2 separate regions of the Homo sapiens genome follow, and region 2 is linked to region 1. The links are contacts of gene promoters, found by promoter capture Hi-C in human tissues and cell types (Jung and others, 2019). All regions are on one chromosome and are shown on one strand. Each heading gives the region's core, a stretch centred on a gene start or on the middle of the fragment in contact. The rest is flanking DNA. Distances are from core to core; before and after follow the strand shown. Region 1 holds the start of TCP11L1 (t-complex 11 like 1). Region 2 has its middle 25 kb from the start of QSER1.

What was found. The method cuts DNA at HindIII sites, captures the fragments that hold promoters and counts their contacts. A contact is called where the count stands out against the background at its distance.
Region 2: a fragment that was not itself captured here is called in contact with the fragment with the promoter of TCP11L1 in region 1 in 1 of the 25 tissues and cell types used here (H1 embryonic stem cells).

What each region holds. Positions count from the first base shown.
Region 1 is chr11:33,037,622-33,042,753 of GRCh38, forward strand. It overlaps TCP11L1 (t-complex 11 like 1), which reads left to right and starts at 1,951. Exons shown (of 10, transcript NM_018393.4): 1 at 1,951-2,171. RefSeq lists enhancers at 1,354-1,901, 1,622-1,971, 2,452-2,771 and a silencer at 1,952-2,351. The HindIII fragment of the contact is 11,210 bases long and covers 1-5,132 here.
Region 2 is chr11:32,865,090-32,869,962 of GRCh38, forward strand. No RefSeq gene overlaps it. Among named protein-coding and RNA genes, the nearest start is that of QSER1, 25 kb to the right of the region's middle. The HindIII fragment of the contact is 7,091 bases long and covers 62-4,873 here.

The DNA.
Region 1 (5,132 bases), core at 701-3,200:
TGGTTATATTAACCTTTTTTTTTTTTTTTGAGATGTAGTCTCGCTGTCTCCCAGGCTGGAGTGCAGGGGTGCGATCTCCGCTCACTGCCACCTCTGCCTCCTGGGTTCAAGGGATTCTCCTGCCTCAGCCTCTCCAGTAGCTGGGATTACAAGCGCCTGCCACCATGCCCAGCTAATTTTTGTATTTTTAGTAGAGACGGGGTTTTGCCATGTTGGCCAGGCTGGTCTTGAACCCCTGACCTCAGGTGATCCGCCCGCCTCGACCTCCCAAAGAGCTAGGATTACAGGCGTGAGCCATTGCACCCAGCCATATTAATCTTTTAAGGAAGGTTCTAGCCTGCTTCCCCAGGGAGCTTTTAAAACTTGTCTGGCATCACCCTCCCCGGAGTTTTGGATGATACTTTTCCAACCCCTGCCCCTGAGATTCCAAGTTGTATTTGTAGTCAGGGCTGAAAAACACTAGAGACTTAATGGTACGAGTTTAGACTCAGAAGAACTGCATGTTTTCTTTGCAGATCTTTTTTTTTTTTTTCAGACGGAATCTCACTCTGTCACCCAGGCTGCAGTGCAGTGGTGCGATCCCGGCTCACTGCAACCTCTGCTTCCCGGATTCAAGCAATTCTCCTGCCTCAGCCTCCCAAGTAGCTGGGATTACAGGCATATGCCACCATGCCCGGCTAATTTTTTTGTATTTTTAGTAGAAACGAGGTTTCACCATATTGGCCAGGCTGGTCTCGAACTCCTGACCTTGTGATCCACCCACCTCCGACCTCCCAAAGAGCTAGGATTACAGGTGTGAGCCACCGCGCCCAGCCATTCTTTGTAGATCTTAACAGTTCCATTTAGTTGAGTATCTTAAGGGTTTTTGGTGTTTTTTCCTCCAAAAAGTGAATCTTCACCAGAGAACTTCTGTTTTTGTCTTTTTTTTTTTTTTTTTAAAGCAAAGACTTTAATGTGCAAGTTAGTAAATGGTTTGAGGGTCTGGTATTGCACTCGGCCTTCAATACGTTAGCAATAACTACCCACATGTGATCTATTTAGAAGCAGTGTTTGAAAGCACCAATGTCACCCCATCTGCTTTTTTGTAGTTTTTTTTTGTTTGTTTGTTTTTGAGACAGAGTCTCGGTCTGTCTCCAGGCCGCAGTGCAGTGGCGCGATCTCGCCTCACTGCAACCTCCGCCTCCCAGATTCAAGCGATTCTCCTGCCTCAGCCTCCCGAGTAGCTGGGACTACAGGCGCGCGCCACCACACCCAGCTAATTTTCGTATTTTTAGTAAAGACGAGGTTTCACCATGTTGGCCAGGATGGTCTCGATCTCTTGACCTCGTGATCCGCCCGCCTCGGCCTCTCAAAGTGCTGGGATTACAGGCGTGAGCTGCTGCGCCCGGACTAACTTTTTTTTAAAGCTGAGGAAATGAGAGAAGGGGAATAAACTTTGTGTAGCTACAAACAGGATGGCAAAATTAAATTTCAAAGAACGGGCGGGGAAGGTTTCAGATGCAATGGCTTCTTATTCCTTCTTTTGACTGACCCGCGCCTTCTCCGCCTCCCTTTCTCCTCGCGTCACCCGCACCAGCGGCTGGGATGCGGCGCGCGTTCCGTCTTTCCGTATGGAAACATGGCGCCTAGGGGCGGGCCATCCCCAGCTTCGAGCCACCGCCAGCTGAGACTCATCGGCGGGCACTCGGCCATGCCTCTCGCGTTTCCGTACGAAAACATGGCGCCTCACTGCGTGCGGCGGGCGACTCTTGGCTGGGAGCCACTGGCCACGGAGCCCCCTGAGCGGTCATCGGCCATGTTTTCCACCTCTCCCTGAGGAAACACGGCGCCGCCCAGCTGCGAGTCACCGCTTACTGAACCCCTTCGGCAAGCAGGGGAAAGACCCTCCCGCCTTTCCGTACGAAGACATGGCGCTGCCCTATATTGGGCTGGCGCCTCCCGGCCAAGAGCAGTCTCCTCCTTCCTGATGCTGAGAAGCGGCCGCTCTGACCGCTGCCCACCCGAGTCGGGCTGGGAGGACCGCCCGCCGCGTGGCGAGGGATGCGGCCTCGGAGGGGCAGAGGCTGAACCGCCCCTGCCTGCCGCGCATCCCTCCGGCTTCCGCCGCGGCGCCAGCCCGCGCCTGATTCGCGGCGGGAGCGGCAGGAGGGAGAACGCCGACTCCGTGGCAGGTGAGAGCGGGAGCTGGGGCGGAGGCTGGCGGGGCCCGTCCGGGAGGCGCGCGGTCCAAGTCGCAGGCATCTCTTCGCCTCTTCCCGTCGGATCCCATCCCGGGATGTCGGGGGCAGGCGAGGAAGAGGCGGGGTCCGCGGGCGGGTGGAGCTCACCCCTCGAGGCTGTCCTCTCGGCGCGCCCGCGTCCTCCCCTACTCCCGGCCCTGCCACTCCCTCGCTGGCCTGAACAGCTGTTTACAACGGAATCCGGACGCCGGGCGCGAGTGGAGCTCAGTGCCAGAGGAGGGGATTCCCGGCGCCGGGGGACAGAGCCCCTTTTTTCTTTTGCCGAAAGACCCTTTCTGCTGGGGAGCCTCTTGTGTCCAGCCTAGGCCCGCGTGCAGCGCCGACGGATGACCGTCTTCTTGGCAAGTGCGAGGATCCTCCTCCCCTCGGCTCTCTTTTTAGACACAGTGGGGGTTGAATGGATGCGCGCGATATAAGCAAATTAAATGGTTCGTGGCCGCATCCTAGAGCCCTTTAATTAGAGTTACCATTTGTAGAAGGCCTGCCGTGCACAATCCCTCGTTTCATCTCCCCCCAAACCGAGCAGGTAGGTAGCTGTGTTTTACAGAGGAGGACACTGAAGTTACACAGCTAGTAAAGAGCCAGAATTGGGGCCCAGGTATGTCTGAAACCAACGCCCAGCCTCCCAGATACAGTGACATCACAGAGATGACGTAGGGATTCATCTCTATCAACAGATACTTGTGGGTGTCTATTTGGGGGATATACAGATGGAGCATAAGTGGGGAATATGACTGGTCCTGGCTCTTAAGAAGTTCGAAATCTAGGTGGGGAATTTTAAAATAAAAACTAGCACTTTTACCATCTGGCCCCAACGCATCTTTCCATCATCTCTAGCCACTTCCTTTTCTCATTTTCTTGTGCCTTGGCTTCTGCCCTCTGAGTGAAATGCCCTCCTTTTCACCTCCTCTCCCCCTCCTCTCCCCCTCCAGACATGTTTTAACTAGGTGAAATCCTACTCCTTTTAAAGATCAGTTCAAATGTCATCTTTTCTGGGAAGGTTTTCTCAATCTCCTCCCAGGCAGAGTTAGTTTCTTCCTCTGCTATATTCCCTGGGCAATTTCATAATGCCACTTAAGTTTCATTATGGCTCCTTGTAAGCCTGTCTGCCTCCCCCTCTAGACTATGTATTTGCATCTTTCTATTTAAATAAGCACGCTTTGAATTGAATTTAAGGCAGTGACAAATGCCAAATGTCAACTAGCCAGCCCTGCAGGAGTTGAGAAAGGTGCAATCACTGGTGAGGTCCGGGAAGTGTCCTGGGAAGAGACAGGACTTGAACTCAATCTTAAGGATGGGGTTAGTTTACTAAGCTGAGCATTAGAGACCTAGAAATCCTCCCTTTCCTCCTCACTGCACAGAATGAATTACTTCATCCCTCCTGGGCTCCTTCTCAGCATGTGAAGATAATAAAATTAGCAGCGTTTTGTTTGTCGTTTCTCACAGAATATGCTGGTAATGTTATCCTTTGGATCTTGGAGCATTTCCTGACCCTAATAGGATTTAGGACACAGAGGAGATGGGTGTCTCCAGTGGGGTGTTGGAAGCTAAGATGGGTCTCGAAAGGGAAAATACATGAAAACAACTTTCATATTAATACAGGCCTGGGCCAGGTGCAGTGGCTCACGCCTATAATCCCAGCACTTTGGGAGGCTGAGGCGGGCGGATCACTAGAGGTCAGGAGTTCGAGACAAGCCTGGCCAACATAGTGAAACCCCATCTCTACTAAAAATACGAAAATTAGCGAGGCGTGGTGGTGGGCGCCTATAATCCCAGCTACTGGGGAGGCTGAGGCAGAAGAATCCCTTGAACCTGGGAGGCAGAGGTTGCAGTGAGCTGAGCCGAGATGGTGCCACTGCACTTCAATCTGGGGAACAGTGCAAGAGTCTGTCCCCAAAAAAAAAACAAAAAAACAGGCCTGAATATTTCAATCCCAGTAACTTCATTCTATTTAATGGAGTTCTCTGAAATTTCACATAATTCTATCAGGTGATTCTTCACCTCTCTCTAATATGCAGAACACAGTCTGCCAAACTCCCTAAATCAGTTGACATTTCTTTTGATCACCTGATTACCTTCCATGTGTGTAAGAAAGTCTAATTAGTGTTTATGAAAATGTTTTGTGATCTTCAAGTGCTGATGTTACAAATGTTAATTATTTTCAGCAAATGCAGAAACATTGTGTCTTCTCTCCCAGAAACACCCTAGGAAAAGGGAGAGTGGAGGAATTGACTAAAACTTTTACTGTAATTAAAACAGGGTTTTTTTGTTTGTTTGTTTGTTTGTTTAGACAGAGTCTCAGTCTGTTGCCCAGGCTGGAGTGCAGTGGTGCGATCTCGGCTCACTGCAAGCTCTGCCTCCCGGGTTCATGCCATTCTCCTGCTTCAGCCTCCTGAGTATTTGGGACTACAGGCACCGCCACCATGCCAGGCCAATTTTTTAATATTTTTAGTGGAGACGGGGTTTCAGCGTGTTAGCCAGGATGGTCTCGATCTCTTGACCTCATGATCCGCCTGTTTTAGGCCTGTTTTAGGCTGGGCACGGTGGCTCATGCCTGTAATCCCAGCACTTTGGGAGGCCCAGGCAGACCTTTTATTAACTGCTCCAAAGCACAGTGTCAAGTGTTATTGCTATTCTGATCAGCAACTAATAAAAAGCCCACCCAACTGCATACATTATGGTTGTTTGCAGCTTCTTACTCACAATCTTTTTCCTAATTACTGGCAAGAAGGTAATAAAAATATTTGCCCCACACATTCCTCTTAAACATTTCATAAGATTCTGTTTTCTGTAGGGCGCAGTGGCTCATGGCTGTAATCCCAGTACTTTGGGAGACCGAGGCAGGTGGATCACCTGAGGTCAGGAGTTCGAGACCAGCCTGACCAACATGGT
Region 2 (4,873 bases), core at 2,357-4,856, 170 kb before region 1:
GTCTCTTCTAAAAATACAAAAAATTAGCTGGGCTTGGTGGCAGGTGCCTGTAATTCCAGCTACTCAAGAGGCTGATGCAGGAGAATCACTTGAACCTGGGAGGCAGAGGTTGCAGTGAGCCAAGATGGCGCCATTGCACTCCAGCCTGGGCAACAAGAGCAAAACTCCGTCTCAAAAAAAAAAAAAAATCACTAAGATCAAATTAATACCTTAAGAAAATCTTATTTTAATATAGGGGACCAATATTAGAAGGACTATTATGAATAATTCTTTTTAAATTGTAGTCAACTTAGTCACATACAAAATTCCTTTTGTAAATCCCCCTTCACAAACCTTATCACAGCTTATACACAACACCCATGACTTGCTTGGACACTCTGATTTGTCCTACATTTTTTTCTTTTTTAAATAACCATATTACTTTAAGACAAATATTTACCATACAGGATCCTTTTTTATATACGATTATTTTTTTCTTTATAAACTTTTCTACCAAAAAAAAATTTTTTTTTTTTTGAGACGGAGTCTTGCTCTGTTGCCCAGCCTGGAGTGCAGTGGCGTGATGTCGGCTCACTGCAAGCTCCGCCTCCCGGGTTCACGCCATTCTCCTGCCTCAGCCTCCCGGGTAGCTGGGACTACAGGCGCCCGCCACCACGCCCAGCTAATTTTTTTGTATTTTTAGTGGAGACAGGGTTTCACCATCTTGGCCAGGCTGGTCTTACCGCTGGTAAGACGTAAGGCGGCTCACACCTGTAATCCCAGCACTTCGGGAGGCTGAGGTGGGTGGATCACCTGAGGTCAGGAGTTCGAGACCAGCCTGGCCAAAATGGTGAAACCCCATCTCTACTAAAAATATAAAAACTAGCTGGGTGTGGTGGTGGGCACCTGTAATCCCAGCTAATTGGGAAGCTGAGGCAGGAGAATTGCTTGAACCCAGGAGACGGAGGTTGCAGTGAGCTGACACGGTCCTACTGCATTCCAGCCTGGGCAACAGAGTGAGACTCTGTCTCAAATTAAAAAAAAAAGAAATGATGAAAAGGATGTTACCATTGACCCCACAGAAATAAAAATAATCATCAGAAACTACCATGAACACTTATATGCACACAAACTAGAAAACCTAGAAAAGATGGATAAATTCCTGGACATATACACCCTCCCAAGACTGAACCAGGAAGAAATTGACCCCCCGAACAGACCAATAGCAAGCTCCTACATTGAATCAGGAATAAACAGCCTACCAACCAAAAAAAGCCCAGGATGAGAAGAATTTGCAGCCAAATTCTACCAGATGTATAAAGAAAAGCTGGTACCACTCCTACTAAAACTATTCCAAAAAATTGAAAAGGAGGGACTCCTCCCCAATTCATTCTATGTGGCCAGCATGATCCTGATACCAAAACCTGGCAGAGAAACACATAAATAAGAAAATTTCAGGCCAATATCCTTGATGAACATTGATTCAAAAATCCTCAACAAAATACTTGCAAGCCAAATCCAGCAGCACATCAAAAAGCTAATCCATTATGATCTAGTAGGCTTCATCCTCAGGAGGCAAATTTGGTTCAACATACACAAATCAATAAATGTGATTTAGCACATAAACAGAACTAAAGTAAAAAACCACATGATTATCTCAATAGATGTAGAAAAAGCTTTTGATAACATTCAACATCCATTCATGTTAAAAACTCTCAATGAACTACGTATTGAAGGAACATACCTCAAAATAATAAAAGCCATCTATGACAAACCCACAGCTGACATTATACCAAATGGGCAAAAGCTGGAAGTATTCCCCTTGAAAACTGGCACAAGACAAGCATTCCTCTCTCTTACTACTTCTATTCAACATAGTACTGAAAGTCCTAGCCAGCGCAATCAGGCAAGAGAAAGAAATAAAGGGCATCCAAGTAGGAAAAGAGGAAGTTAAACTATCCCTGTTTGTAGATAACATGATTCTATATGCAGAAAGCCCCATAGTCTCGGCCCAAAAGCTCCTTCAGCTGATAAACAAACAACTTCAGCAAAGTTTCAGGATACAAAATCAATGTATAAAAATCACTGGCATTCCTATACACCACCAACAGCCAAGCTGAGAACCAAATTGAGGAAGGCAATCCCATTCACAATTGCCACAAAATGAATAAAATACATAGGAATACAGCTATCCAAGGAGGTGAATGATCTGTACAATGACAATTGCAAAACATGGCTCAAAGAAATCGAAGAAGACACAAACAAATGGAAAACATCCCATGCTCATGGACAGGAAGATTCAATATCACTAAAATGGCCATACTCCCCAAAGCAATTTACAGATTCAATGCTGTTCCTATCAAACTTCCAATGACATTATTCACAGAATTAGAAAAAAACTATTTTAAAATTCATACAGAACAAAAAAAGAGCCCAAATAGCCAAAGCAATCCTAAGCAAAAAGAACAAAGCTGGAGGCATCATGTTACCCAACTTCAACCTATACTACAGGGCTACAGTAACCAAAACAGCATGGTACTGGTACAAAAGCAGACACATAGACCCAGGGAACAGAATAGAGAGTTCAGAAGCAAGGCTGCACGCTTATGACCACAAGGTCTTTGACAAAGCTGACAAAAACAAGAAATGGGAAAAAGATTCTCTATTCAATAAATGGTGCTAGGATAACTGGTTAGCTATATGCTGAAGTTTGAAGCTGGACTCCTTCCTTACACCATATACAAAAATCAACTCAAGATGGATTAAAGACTTAAATGTAAAACCCAAAACTATAAAAACCCTGGAAGGCAACCTAGGTGATACCATCCTGGACATAGGAATGGGAAAAGAGTTCATGACAAAGACACCAAAAGCAATCACAACAAAACCAAAAATTGACAAATGGGATCTAATTAAATTTAAGAGCTTCTGCACAGCAAAAGAAACTATCAACAGAGTAAACAGAGGACCTACAGAATGGGAGAAAATACTTGCAAACTATGCATCTGACAAATGTCTAATATCCAGCATCTATAAGGAACTTAAATTTACAATAGAAAAACAATCAGGCTGGGCGCAGTGGCTCACGCTTGTAATCCCAGCACTTTGGGAGGCCGAGGTGGGTGGATCACAAGGTCAGGAATTCGAGACCAGCCTGGCCAATATGGTGGAACCCTGTCTCTACTAAAAATACAAAAAGTAGCTGGGCATGGTGGCATGCACCTGTAGTCCCTGCTACTCGGGAGGCTGAGGTGGAAGAATAGCTTGAACCTGGAAGGCGGAGGTTGCAGTGAGCCGAGATTGCACCACTGCACTCCAGCCTGGGTGACAGAGCAAGACTTCATCTCAAAAAAAAAAAAAAAAAAAAAGAAAAGAGAAAAGAAAAATAATCCCATTAAAAGTGGGCAAAGGACATGAACAGACACTTTTCAAAAGAAGACATACATGTGGCCAACAAGCATATAAGAAAAAAAATATATCACTGAACATTAGAGAAATGCAAATCAAAACCGCAATGAGATACCATCTCGCACAGTCAGAATGGCTATTATTAAAAAGTCAAAAAATAACAGATGCTGGTGAGGTTGCAAAGAAAAGGGAACACTTATACACTGTTGGTGAAAATGTCAATTAGATCAACCATTGTGGAAAACAGTATGGCGATTCCTCAAAGAACTAAAAACAGAACTATTTAACCCAGCAATCTCATTCCCGGGTATATACACCCAGAGGAATATAAATCATTCTAACACAAAGACACATGCACACGAATGTTCACTGCAGCACTATTCACAAAAGTAAAGACATGGAATCAACCTAAATGCCCATCAATGATAGACTGGATGAAGAAAATGTGGTACATATACACCATGGAATACTATGCAGCCATGAAAAAGAACAAGATCATGTCTTTTGCAGGAACATGGATAGAGCTGGAGGTTATTATCCTTAGCACACTAACGCAGGAAGAGAAAACCAAATCCCACATGTTCTCACTTATAAGTGGAAGCTAAATAACTCATGAACGCAAAGAAGGGAACAACAGACACTAGGGTCTACTTGAGGGTGGAGGGTGGGAAGAAGGAAGAAGCAGAAAAAATAACTATTGTGTACTAGGCTTAATACCTGGGTGATGAAATAATCTGTACAACAAACCCCCATGACACAAGTGTACCTATATAACAAGCCTTCACATGTACCTCTGAACCTAAAAGTAAAACAATAGAGTAAAAAATAAAATAAAGTGAAAATAAAATAAAATAATGTGAGTAGAAATAAAGAACTACTTGTGATAAAATAATCCATCAATGTATGGCTCAAAATTAAAGCTTGTTTTAATATAATTTTAATGTAAGCTATGTCTCAAGATAAACTAACTGAAATTCCTTTTTTTTTTTTTTTTTCAGACGGAGTTTCACTCTTATTGCCCAGGCTGGAGTGTAATGGTGTATTCTCCGCTCACTGCAACCTCCGCCTTCCCGGTTCAAACAATTCTCCTGCCTCAGCCTCTGGAGTAGCTGGGATTACAGGCGCGAGCCACCACACCCGGCTAATTTTTGTATTTTTAGCAGAGACGGTGTTTCACCATGTTGGCCAGGCTGGTCTCAGACTCCTGACCTCAGGTGATCCGCCTGTCTTGGCCTCTCAAAGTGCTGGGATTACAGGTGTGAGCCACTGCGCCCGGCCTGAAATTCTTTTAAAAAATAATAATTAAGGCCAGGCACAGTGGCTCATGCCTGTAATCCCAGCACTTTGGGAGGCTAAGGCAGGCAGATCATGAGGTCAGGAGTTCGAGACCAGCCTGACCAACATGGTGAAACCCCATCTCTACTAAAAATACAAAAATTAGCCAGGCATCGTGGTGCGCACCTGTAATCCCAGCTACTCGGGAGGC